2 separate regions of the Homo sapiens genome follow, and region 2 is linked to region 1. Evidence: promoter capture Hi-C in human tissues and cell types (Jung and others, 2019). All regions are on one chromosome and are shown on one strand. The core of a region is centred on a gene start or on the middle of the fragment in contact, and the rest is flanking DNA. Distances in the headings are between cores, read along the strand shown. Region 1 holds the start of PLCE1 (phospholipase C epsilon 1). Region 2 overlaps PLCE1 (phospholipase C epsilon 1).

Region 1 (5,779 bases), core at 1,389-3,888:
AAGCGCCAATCCTTCTTCTGTAATATGTGCAGTAGAGGGTGTGGGGCCTCTTGTTGGCAACCACCACCATGAAGTCAGAGACCACTGCCCCCACCTCCTTTCTGAAAATTACAGGATAGGGGAGGCAGAAAGAAAGAGGGAAGATGGTTCCGTTTCTTAAAATAATTTTACTACTTAAATTCCCTAGTCTCTATGTTTATCATGTATTTAAATCAATTTCCATTGACTGGAGACCAGTATGTAATGTAATAAGCTCAAAAGACATGTGTGTTTTCTTCTGAAATTTCAAACATAGATGCACTTTACTGAAATAAAGTCTCCACAGGATTGTTTCTTGGGGCTGTTGTTGTTGTCTATGCAGAATGGTCTTGTATAAAGAGATGCATAACTTAGTTTACTGAAGCTGAATTTTCCATGGAAATTATCCAGTGCTTTCCCAATTCTCAGGCGCTTTATCTGACAGTCTTTCTTCCTCTAGATAATGGCTGGCAGCAGCCCACAGAGTGGAGGTTATATGGTGCACTTCTGAAAAAGTCTTGAATGGAGCCATTGTTCCCCTGAGATGGTCTGTGTGTTTCACTGAACAGAGAGCAGGGTGTAAAAAAGGCACCTTGTGTGCAACTGTTGGCGAGGTTGGGGAGTGAATTAAAATCTCCAGAAAGTCTGGGCAGTGCTGTTCAGAGGAGCAATGAACACTCTGGAAGTACTGTTAGCTCAGACATTCCAATGTGGTGAGGCAGCCTCGGGGACACGACTTCCCTCCAATCTCGTTTAGAGAGGGAGCCATGGGGCGAGCAAAGGACACTGATCTGGACCTGCTCTCTTTGCAAAGATTTGAGGAAGGCGCCCCTTTCTAGGGATGGGGCCACAGTGATTATCACACTTGGATAACTTTCCTGCTCAACGGACCTAGATTTGCCTTGCTTACTAATCATGCAATGACTCATTTGGAGGATTCAATGTTAACTGCTTGTGCATCTACCAGTTTGTAGCTATCTATTCCCATGTGCCAAATTAAAAAAAAAAAGTCTTTGGGGGTGCCAGGTGATGGATGAAGTTTGATATTATTTGATCATTAAATGAATTATAAAACCATAATATAATACTGTATATTAAATAAATAGCCTACCTTGTTTATTGTCAGTGATGCTACCTCTTTCCTCAGCCCTTTATTTACTTGTTCAGGATAACATAGCCTCAGGGATTGAGTAAATTACCACTTCTCACTGTCCTAGTGCTAAAATGCCAAGATCTTAAGGAACAAAGAATTTCTTTAGAGCCCTCTGCAGAGACCTTTCTGAAATCAGCTCTCCAGGGAGGCAATCATGTTAGTTTTCATTAAAGTCCTAGTGGTGAGAAAACAGCAAGACAGTTTAAGGACCAGACTGGCAGATTTTTCTTAACAGCAGGATTCTTTGGGCCTCCTGTGCTTTCTTGCTCCAACCTCTCCTGTGTTCTGGAGCCTCCAAGAAGGAGAGATCACTTTTAAGAGGGACCCGAAAGAAAGGGTCAAACATGAGCAGGAGGAAAGTGTGTGGGAGGAGATGCTCCAGGTAGAAGGCTCAGCTTAAGTTCAGGTACAGAGCTAGAGTGGGAGAGACATTCTGTTGGGTGATCCTTATTAGCCAGGGCATGCTGGGTTACACAGCCATGGAGAGTTAGTTTGGAGGGCAATAGGGAGCCAGTGAAGTTTTCTGCATAGATTAAAGTTGTAAAAAAGGAAGAATAATACAGCGGTGGTTTGAAGGATTGATTTGGTCCAAGGGAGAGGACAGTGGGAGGCGATATGGGCCACAGGAATGGGTCCTGATCGGATGTAGGAGAAGAGGTCAGGCCTAGGGAACGGTCTTCCATTAGAACAGGTAGAGGGAGGAGGCACAGGTTTAGGCGAAAGGGAGGAGGATGATGATTTGATTTTTTTTTCCAGGTCCTTGGCTCTCCTAAGACTCATAAAAGCCGCTCCAGCGGCTAAGGAAGTTCTGTGCAAAGCCTGTAGTTTCTAGTTGTGAAGATCTTCAGGTTTGCTTGAGCAATGAAAGAGTACTGGATTTGGAGTCCGCAGTCCTGGATGGCCACCATTACCAGCAAAAGGAGTATTTCCGGAGCCTGGCACAACGCTGGGCACATTGATGGGGCTCAATGAATATGTATTAAATGAACGAGTGACAGAACAGATTCGAGACTTGGTGCTGCCATCTACTACAGAGACCTTGATCGTGTCCTTTATCTGCCGTGAACCTCAGTTTCCATATCTGTCAACCAGGGGTGGTTCCCTGGGGTAGTGTGAGAGTAAATTCCCGCCGCCTGAGGTGTGCAGAGTTCCCGCCCTTCCCGGAGCCGGGCGCCCCAGGAGCGCTCTCTCTGGCTCCCGCCAGAAAGGATGGCTCCTAGGGGTCAGGGCCAGGGGTCTGGGAAGGGGTCGCGCCGCCAGCAGCCAGCTCCGGGGGAGGCGGCCGGGTCCTCGCTCCGCGCCCGCCTTCCCCGCGCGGCAGGAGCCGGGGGCGGGCCCGGCACAGGCCGCTCCCCCGCCCGGCCGCCCGCGGTGGCGCTAGCGGCCTCTCACCCGGGGCGGGCGAGTTCTGGGAAAGCCCGGCCCAGGGCGGGGGCCCCGCTGCCGCCCGCGCAGCCGCCGCTGTCCGGGCAGCGCGCACATCTCGGCGGGAGCGGACTGTGAACGGCGCGGGTCCACACGGTAACGCTGGGCAACGTGGGCAACGCGGCGGGCGGCGGGCTCGCGCGGCGGGAGGGGCAGCGGCGGCGCGCCCGGGCTCTACCTCCCGGGCTCTGCCTCCCGGGCTCTGCCTCTCGGGCACTTGCCTGGCTCCTGCGCGTTCCTGGGCATCGGCTCTGCAGCTGACACACAGTAGCGGGGACACCCGACGCCGCTAGCGACAGGCGCGCGGACGGCTGGTCCCAGAGGGACGCTGCGCTTGGGGACGCCGGCGAGACTCGCCAGGAGCCAAGAGGTGAGGAAGCGACTCTGTAGCTCGGTTCCTGAGGACTGGAGAAAGGGAAGGATGGGCTGGTTCTCTCCCAAGGCAGTCGACCCGCCTAAGGGAGCAGCCCGACTCCGCGTACCTGGCGGAAAAGTGTCCTCGCGCTCCCGGGGGACCCGAGGCGGGCGGTCCTCCAGGGCATGCAGGCCGCCCTCGCAGGGGCTAAAGGACACCCTGCCAGTGCCTTCACTCCAGACGCCTGCCTCAGGTCGCCCCTTCGTGTTGTGAATACGGTGTGGAGGTGGCCAGTGCAAAGAAAAACGTAAGCTCTTTTTGTGGCGGTACTTAGCAGCGGTATTTCAAGGAAAGTGCTCAAGAGATTGTTCCTGGAGAGATTTGTGTACATCAAGTCCTAGAAAATACAATATTGGACCAGGTCCCGCTCTAACTGATAACTAGAATAGCTAGCTTTGCCTTCAAGTCCTTTAATGCTACAGTAATAAATACACTAGAGCAAGAAGTCTTCTGTCGTGGCGAATGTTAGGTGCACAGCGTAAATTTGTGGAAGCTTTCGCCCCTCGCTCTGTATTTAAGCCATCAGACACTGAGTTCAGCCGACTTAACCAATTATTCAGTGTAAGACTCATTTAGTGATTAATCAGTGTCATTTTAAATAGTGAGTTCCCTGAATACCTGTTAAGTAGGATTCACGTCTTCGAAAAGTTTTATTTGCACGAAGGTCATAATTTCAGTTGCATTATGCAAAATTTGCCCGTAGGTCTTTTAGATCTCTGCAGGATTGGTATGTTTTCATGTTTCTTATACCCCCCGTAGAGGTAGGGCAGGGCCGCTGCCACAGAATGGGCACTACTGAGGCCAAGAATGCTTGACCCCACTAGGGAGAATTTTTGAGAGCCTGACTTGGGAGGTGGAAGCAGGTGACCCCATAGGTGCTTGTACAGGTGCCCAGTTGTCATTGAGGAGAGAGGTGGACTATCTCTAGGTTATTGTATGCATCGATGTCTTCATAAATACTTTTCTGAAGAATGTCTGATGGTGTTGTCATCTAGACCATCTGATGGCACATCTTCCCCCACATCCACCACTCTAAAGTCTAACCATCCTTCAAACTGTGTTTTGCTGGTGGTGTGAGGCTTTTCCTGAAACAGCCAACCTCCCCCTGCTCTGATTTCTGCAGCATTTTTTCTCCAGGGCCCTTTCTGCTCTCTACCTTCTGGGAGTTATTTATGTAGATGTCTCATTTTCCCTACTGAAGGCATTTGCTGTGGCTTTCATGGCAAAATGCTTGCACCTAGAAGACTCTAGAGATAATTGTGGGCCAGTATTAAATCTTAAGACTTTGGTTTTACAACATAAATATCTACTTTGGAGAAGGAGATAATATAATTGAAAGGAGCTAGAGGAATGTATAATGTTTACCATTAACACTATCCTTTATTTACAGCCCCATGGGGGAAATTCCCTTTATACCCAGGAGCCATGTCTTACCAGGTAAGAAGCCAGATTGAACTGGAGGGACATTCTTCCAGTCCTCTTAGTAACATAAACTCCTGGGATGTGGTCCAAGTTTGACCTGTCATTAAAAATTCCATACTCCAGTGGGTTAGAAGCTAGATTCCAATGAAGGCGGTTGGTTTTGTTTTTCTATTTACAACCATTCTTAGTCACATTCTTCTCTGGGCTTTTGTTGTATACTTTAAAAAAACTGTTTGATGTGCAATTTGTTACCTGTAACTTTCTAAATGAATAAAAGAAGATTGAAAAAATACTGTGCATGGTGGAAGAGTTTTCTAAAGTAGACAGCAGGGGACGTTTCCCATGCCTGGGCAAGAGGAGGGATTTGCACAGAGTGAGGCTTGCTGCACGTGTGTGTGTGTGTGTGTGCGCGCGCGTGTGTGTTCCACACACCTGGCTGACAGGCGCCTATATAGGACAGTTGCTTTAGTCTTAATGCCTTCTCTCTCTGCCGGAACTACTTCTGCGGTGGAAGAACAATAAAACAGAGCTTCTGGGTTCAGAAGGAGAAGCAGAGGAAAAGCCAAAAACAGTAGAAGCAGCTAAGAGTGTGAATTTGTTTGCTGAAGTTGCTTTCCTCCCAACGTTCAGTTGAGATCTGTGGCATTGAGCAAGTAGGGGTTTGGTTGAGGCGAGGGAAGACAGGTGATTAGGAAACATGGTGCTTCTGGAAGAGGGGTGGAAGGTTCTGATAGGGTTTTAGGGAAGCATGTGATTTAGTTATGTAAGGCCCAAAGAGGAGAGTTGGAGATGGAGGAGTAGGGAATGGAGAAAGAGAGGAAGACGATATCAAAGATGCATTTTGTTATAGGCCAACCATGTGGCCTACAAAGAAGGGCAGAACTCTCTCTAGCATCATGTGTTCCTCTCTGCTCCCTGGATGCAGAATGCAGGGTTTTTACCGAGGCTATAATTCATCTGTGTTATGGCTTAAATAGATTTTCGTGGGCCAGATTGGGAACCAAGCCCTCGGAGGCTACATTGTCCAACATGGTAGTCACTAGCCACATATGGCTATTTACATTTGAATTGAAATTAGTTAAATGAAATTAACCACCCATATTTCAAGTGCTTGATAGCTACATGCAGCTAGTGGCTACTGTATTGGACAGTGCAGATATAGAACATTTTCATCATCTCAGAAAATCCTTCCCTAGAGGATTGTTTCAAAGGGGTAATTCCTATTAATCTCCAAAGTGTACTGGTTTCCAAATGAAATTTAGTCATAACTTTAAAGTTTCCAAATTTTACATGAAAATAATAGAAGTTGTTGTTGGTAACACTATGGTGCTTACTACATGCCAGGC
Region 2 (5,779 bases), core at 1,390-3,889, 150 kb after region 1:
ACTAATGATGCCTGGAAAAGATCAAACAGCAACTGTCTGGGAACCTGAGAATGCTGCCCCACACACCTAGGGCCCAAATGTGGGCTCTTGCTGAGGATGTAACCTAGAGGAGAGTGACAACAAGGACGAAGACCCTGACAAGTGCATCTCCATCTGTTCCTCTGACAAACAAACTGCCTGTGAGGCCGGGCATCGTGGCTCATGCATGTAATCCCAGCACTTTGGGAGGCCAAGGCAGGTGGATCACCTGAGGTCAGGAGTTCGAGGCCAACCTGGCCAACATGGTGAAACCACATCTCTACTAAAAATAACAAAAGTTAGCTGGGCATAGTGGCACGTGCCTGTAATCCCAGCTACTCAGGAGGCTGAGGCAGGAGAATCACTTGAACCCAGGAGGCAGAGATTGCAGTGAGCTGAGATTGGGCCACTGCACTCCAGCCTGGGTGACAGAGCGAGACTCCATCTCAAAAAACAAAAAAATAAACAACAAATTGCCTGTGAGGATGAATTCTCCGACTCTGATGAAGAGGGAAAGGGTGGCTGCAAGAATTCTTCCAACTTCAAAAAAGCCAAGTGGGTCTAAACAGGATGAAAGAGAGAAAGACCCAGAAGAGAAGAAGTCACAGCAGAGAAGACCAAGGAGAAGCCAGAGGCCAAAGGGGTCCAGAAGGAGGTCAAGTTGGCTGAGCAGGCCTTTCCAGCTCTGGCTTCTTGCTGGGTCCCCTAACAACTTAGATTTTATATTTTCTATTTCTCTAGACTATTAGTAAATTTTTATTTACTAAACATAAATATCTTGGGGACTAGAGTGAAAGACAGAAACCAGGGTCCTGAGTCCAGGGCAGCTGTGCTGGGTGAGCTCTTCCAGGAGCTGCCTTGCCCCCCTTTCCTCCCCAGTTCTTAACTTTGAACCATAAAGGGAGCCAGGGCTGGGTGGGAGGGATACTTGTAGGTAGCCATATAGTAGTTTTGGAAAGGTGTCCTTATTAGCATTCTAGAAGGGGTGGCTGGATCTCCAAGGATCCTCTGTTCTTTCCAGGTTCCTAAGGTAATATTAGATGTTTTAGATTGGTTCTGTTCTCATACCTCCCCATTGTCCTCAAGTAAGCCAGGAAGCTCACACTGCCTGCCCTCTGTGTTCCTCCAATTCTGCAGGTGCAGATTGGTAGTCTAGTTTCCTTTTTTGGATACTATTTTCTTTTTGTGAGACTTTGTAATAAAATGGTACATTTCTATTTTTAAAAATAATAATACATTATGTATTAGAAAAAAAAACTAAACTGTTCATTTTTAACCAGTCTGAGTGTGTGGTATGTGTGTCTGTAGACTATATTTAGCTATATTAAAGTTATTTATCACATGTCAGCTATAAATAGAATATTGATATGAAAACAAAAATACCTTACAGATACAATATTTTTGTTTGAAAAGAGGGAATATTTTATTTCAGATAGAAAAGTCTACCAGCACTTTGAGAGGTCGAGGCGAGCACATCACTTGAGGTCAGAAGTTTGAGACCAGCCTGGCTAACATGATGAAACCTGTTACTACTGAAAATACAAAAAAAAAAAAAAAGTTAACCAGGCGTGGTGGCATACACCTGCAGTCCCAGCTACTTAGGAGGCTGAGGCATGAGAACTGCTTGAACCCAGGAGGAGGAGGTTGCAGTGAGCCGAGAACACACCACTGTACTCCCTCCTGGGCAACACAGTGAGACTCCCATCAAGTTTTCAACTTATTTTCTTTCACTACAATAAGCTTGTATATTCTATTTGTATCTTTCTCTAAAGTTAATAGCTTTGAATAAAAAACAAGAAGTTATAGTAGGAATACACATACACATTTGAACTACATGATTATAACTCGTAAATACTTTAGTTTGTAAAGGCTGGCTTAGTTGACTTCCTCAAAATCAAAACGATTACCCTTTACATGCCTACTAGGCAAGGAAGGCATGTGCATAGCTCTAATTCCAAGATTTGTTTATTTAAAGAAATATCCTGACTTGTTAGTATTGTGACCTTGAAATTATTTTCTTGGTATTTAAAAGTATGCTTTAATGTAATATTGGGTGTGTTTCTCTACCAGTTAATCAACTAAAAAGTATTCATTAGCTGCCCACTGTGGCCTAGTGCTATGGCACCTAAGAATGGAGAAGATCACATCTGGAAGTCTTCAACTTGTAAGATAATATTTCTCATTCCAGAGAAAATGTAATATTAGGTTTCAGGTCTACTGAAGGAGCCCTTACCACCTAAAGAGAATTCATAAAGTGCTAGGCTGCTACATTAAAGGTGGTATGAGTAGGTCATAGGGCCAGGAAGCTTGGTAGGCACAGGACAAAAACCTGTTTTAGGACCACAGGTGGTCAAGTATCATCCAGGAGTGTGACACTACACCTGGGTGTAACCTAAGAATATGACTCCATACCAGTTGTGACCAAGGAATGTGACTCCGTCACCAGGTGTGACCTGAACATAGCACTCCATTCCTAGGTGTGAATACACCCATTTTGAGCTGGGAGACTGATTCCATTTAATTCTCTTATGTGCCCTAATTTTGCTCCAAGAAACTAGCTTATGAAAGGAACAAATTATGGCCTAATTCTCCATAAAGTTTTGACACCAAAAAGAGAGAGAGGGAGAGGGAGAGGGAGGAGAAGGAGAAGGGAAGGTGAAGGGAAGGCGAAGGGAAGGTGAAGGGAAGGCTAAGGGAAGGTGAAGGGAAGGCTAAGGGAAGGTGAAGGGAAGGCTAAGGGAAGGTGAAGGGAAGGCTAAGGGAAGGCAAAGGGAAGGAGAAAGGAAGGCAGAAGGAGGAAAGAAAGAAGGAAGGAAAGAAGAAAGGGAGGGAGGGAGGAAAGAAAGAAGGAAGGGAGGGAGAGAAGGAAGGGAGGGAGGGAGGGGAAGGAAAGAAGGAAGATCGGGTAATTGAAAGTTGGTTAAATCCTAATCAATGCAGTCAGAAAGATGACTGGTGAGGATAGCAACACCAGACAGACACTTTGGGTTTACATATCTGAGCTGGTTATAAAAATGTCAAGTCCTAATTACAGAGACTCAGAATGGACCATATTGCAGAAATTTATTTGCAAAATAGTTATTTGAAACACTGCATCCAAAAAAACAACCATTAGATTCCAAAACTTCCCTCCAAAACTTACTGAATATTTAAGTAAAACAATAGTTCTTAAAAATGCCAGAGAATAGCTGCAGACTCTGCAGAAGTGGTTACCTCCAAGAAAGGCCTTTAAATGTGAGCCTCATTGTGTTTTGGATTTGAGCCTTGACTTCAACATTGGGTCATCCTATTCAGGTGATTGTACCTCTAGGCTTTAGTTTCTGCATCTACAAAATGGGAATAAAAGCAACAACTTCGGAGAGTTGTTTTGAGGAATAAGTGTGACAATGTATATAAAGAACTTAGGCCAGGTGGCTCATGCCTGTAATCTCTGTACTCTGGGAGGCAAAGCCAAGAAGATCACGTTAGGCCAGGAGTTCAAGACGAGTGTAGGCAACATGGCGTGATGCTGTCTCAAAAAAAAAAAAAAAAAAGCCAGCCAGATGTGGTGGTGTGTGCCTGTGGTCCCACCTATTCAGAAGGCTGAGGCTGTAGAATCACTGTAGCCCAGGAATTTGAAGCTGCAGTGCGCTATGATCCTGCCACTGCACTCTGTCCGCCTAGGTGATGGAGCGAGACTCTCTCTCTACAAAAACTTTAAAAATTAAAAATAAAAACAGCTTGGCATAGTATCTGGTACCTAATGTATGTTCAACCAATCTTATGATGATGATGGTCATGCTGGGGCTGATGATGGTGATGATGATGGTAGTAATGAGGATTGCCACCACCATCTTGAAATGCCAGCATTCCACTGTTCTTAATTCAAAGACTCTGCTGTTAGCTCAGTTGTAGATGTACAAGAAAAGACAAGTACCCTCCAGGTTTCCCTAGCTGTGGGCCTAGAGCACTAGCAACTCCTGGGACACCTAAGGGGAGGTATCTAGTGGCTGGAGGCCACACCTGTGTAACTCCTTTAGCGAGATTTTCCTTAGTTCCCATGCATTAGGCCACTGATTAATTCAATCATTTGACCAATATTTGTTGAACATCTACTATGTGCCAAGGATATAACAGCAAACAAAATACAGTCTTTACTTTCGAGGGATTTACCCACAAATGGAGGAAATGGACAAATAAACGTGCAAATTTTAAGATAGTATAAATGTTATAATTGAAATAAGCACAGGATATAGGGCCCCAGAGGGAAGTCCCTATACCATCTTCATTGACATCTGAGGTTTCTACAACCATTTAAGTACCTGAAGAAATCTAAACAGGTATTTAACCAGGGAAAACAAGCCCTGACCCATATTATGAAACTTCTGTTGTTTTTACTTAATTCTCTGCTGATATCATCTCTATTTTATTCCCTCCAGAGTAGAAAGATGCTAAGCATTTACTCCTGGTATTGGGAGCCTTGTCTAAAAATCTATGACTGGGACAAAATTTAGTGTTCCAGTTAAAATTTGTATATTTTAATGAAGATGACTTACTCATTACAATAAAATTAAAGGATTTTTTTCAATACATGACACTTCTACTTTTGAGTGTTTCTAAATTGTTTATTGTTTTTAAAGAGTAAGCCTCATTTTAATGAGCTATGAAAATTCTTGCTCTTGGGAACATTTATAGAACATAATAAAATGCTTATAATCTGTTTATAATAACATGTGGGTCAGTAGCAAATACTTAAGAGGATAAAAAAGAGAATATCTCACCATAGTCTGAGTCATAATTTAAACTTCTACTGGAATTGAGTCTTCAAACCAAGAAATAGTGAATAAATTATTACAGTTAAAGTAACAAAAAGATATTTTTAACGGTGTTTAGATTTTGGTAATTGAATTCTAATTACAGATATTATACTATCATCAGGAAAGTCTAACAAGTTTTGTCAACTGGAAATATATATTTGGTATTTTGTCTTTTTAACTTCATATTTCATTGTGACAACAAACTTAAAAAAATATTTTCTATAATGTTAATGTCACAAGTGATTCCTTGAACAAATGTATGCTCAAACACCACTAAGGATCTACCTTTGAATTTTACAGTCACCAGAAACACCCTGTGTGACAGTAGCGGGTATTTTGCCCCTGTTTATACTCAGAGACACATTTTGGCATCAATAAGCAGACTCATCTAAAATCCATTTCAAATAGATGTTGTTGTGGATGATCTGGGAACATGGAGGGTAAGAGAGAGTATAACAAGTTTCAGAGACCCTAGCAACTCACAAGATCTAGGCTGATACACTACCAAGTCTAGACCCAAAATCCTTAACTAGGGTTGACCAGCTTGTAGGAGCAAAGCCAGTATTTGATCCTAAGCCTCTCTGATTCCCAAAGCCATGTTCTTAACTACTAGGAAACACTCCAGTATTATCTCCCACTCAGGGATCCCGTGTACTGACTTATACCAGTGTGTGTGTGTGTCTCTGTGTGTGTGTGTGCATACATGGAGTATAACACTAAATCTTAGATTTGAATGGAGGTTCATTTGACTACAGAATTGATCATTTTCCCACATACCTGCTGCCCCCTTGCCCTAGAGACCTCCAGTGATTTTGAGGATGTCTGTGGAAATGATATCCTTCCATTCTTTGATATAGACACCTATGAGGGTAGTGGGAGTCTTCCCACTGATGGTTACATGTTCATAACACAGTCAATCAAATGGGAAAAGAAGCAGCTCCTGTTAGCTGATGGGCCAAGTAAAA

The links. The method cuts DNA at HindIII sites, captures the fragments that hold promoters and counts their contacts. A contact is called where the count stands out against the background at its distance.
Region 2: a fragment that was not itself captured here is called in contact with the fragment with the promoter of PLCE1 in region 1 in 1 of the 25 tissues and cell types used here (H1 embryonic stem cells).

The regions. Positions count from the first base shown.
Region 1 is chr10:93,991,293-93,997,071 of GRCh38, forward strand. It overlaps PLCE1 (phospholipase C epsilon 1), which reads left to right and starts at 2,639. Exons shown (of 33, transcript NM_016341.4): 1 at 2,639-2,966. LOC105378438 (a long non-coding RNA gene) reads left to right here. Exons shown (of 4, transcript XR_946215.2): 4 at 1,928-2,427. RefSeq lists a silencer at 2,453-2,742. The HindIII fragment of the contact is 15,571 bases long and covers 1-4,798 here.
Region 2 is chr10:94,138,818-94,144,596 of GRCh38, forward strand. The region is part of intron 3 of PLCE1 (phospholipase C epsilon 1); the gene reads left to right. It also overlaps the pseudogene HDAC1P1. Among named protein-coding and RNA genes, the nearest start is that of PLCE1-AS2, 33 kb to the left of the region's middle. The HindIII fragment of the contact is 3,556 bases long and covers 862-4,417 here.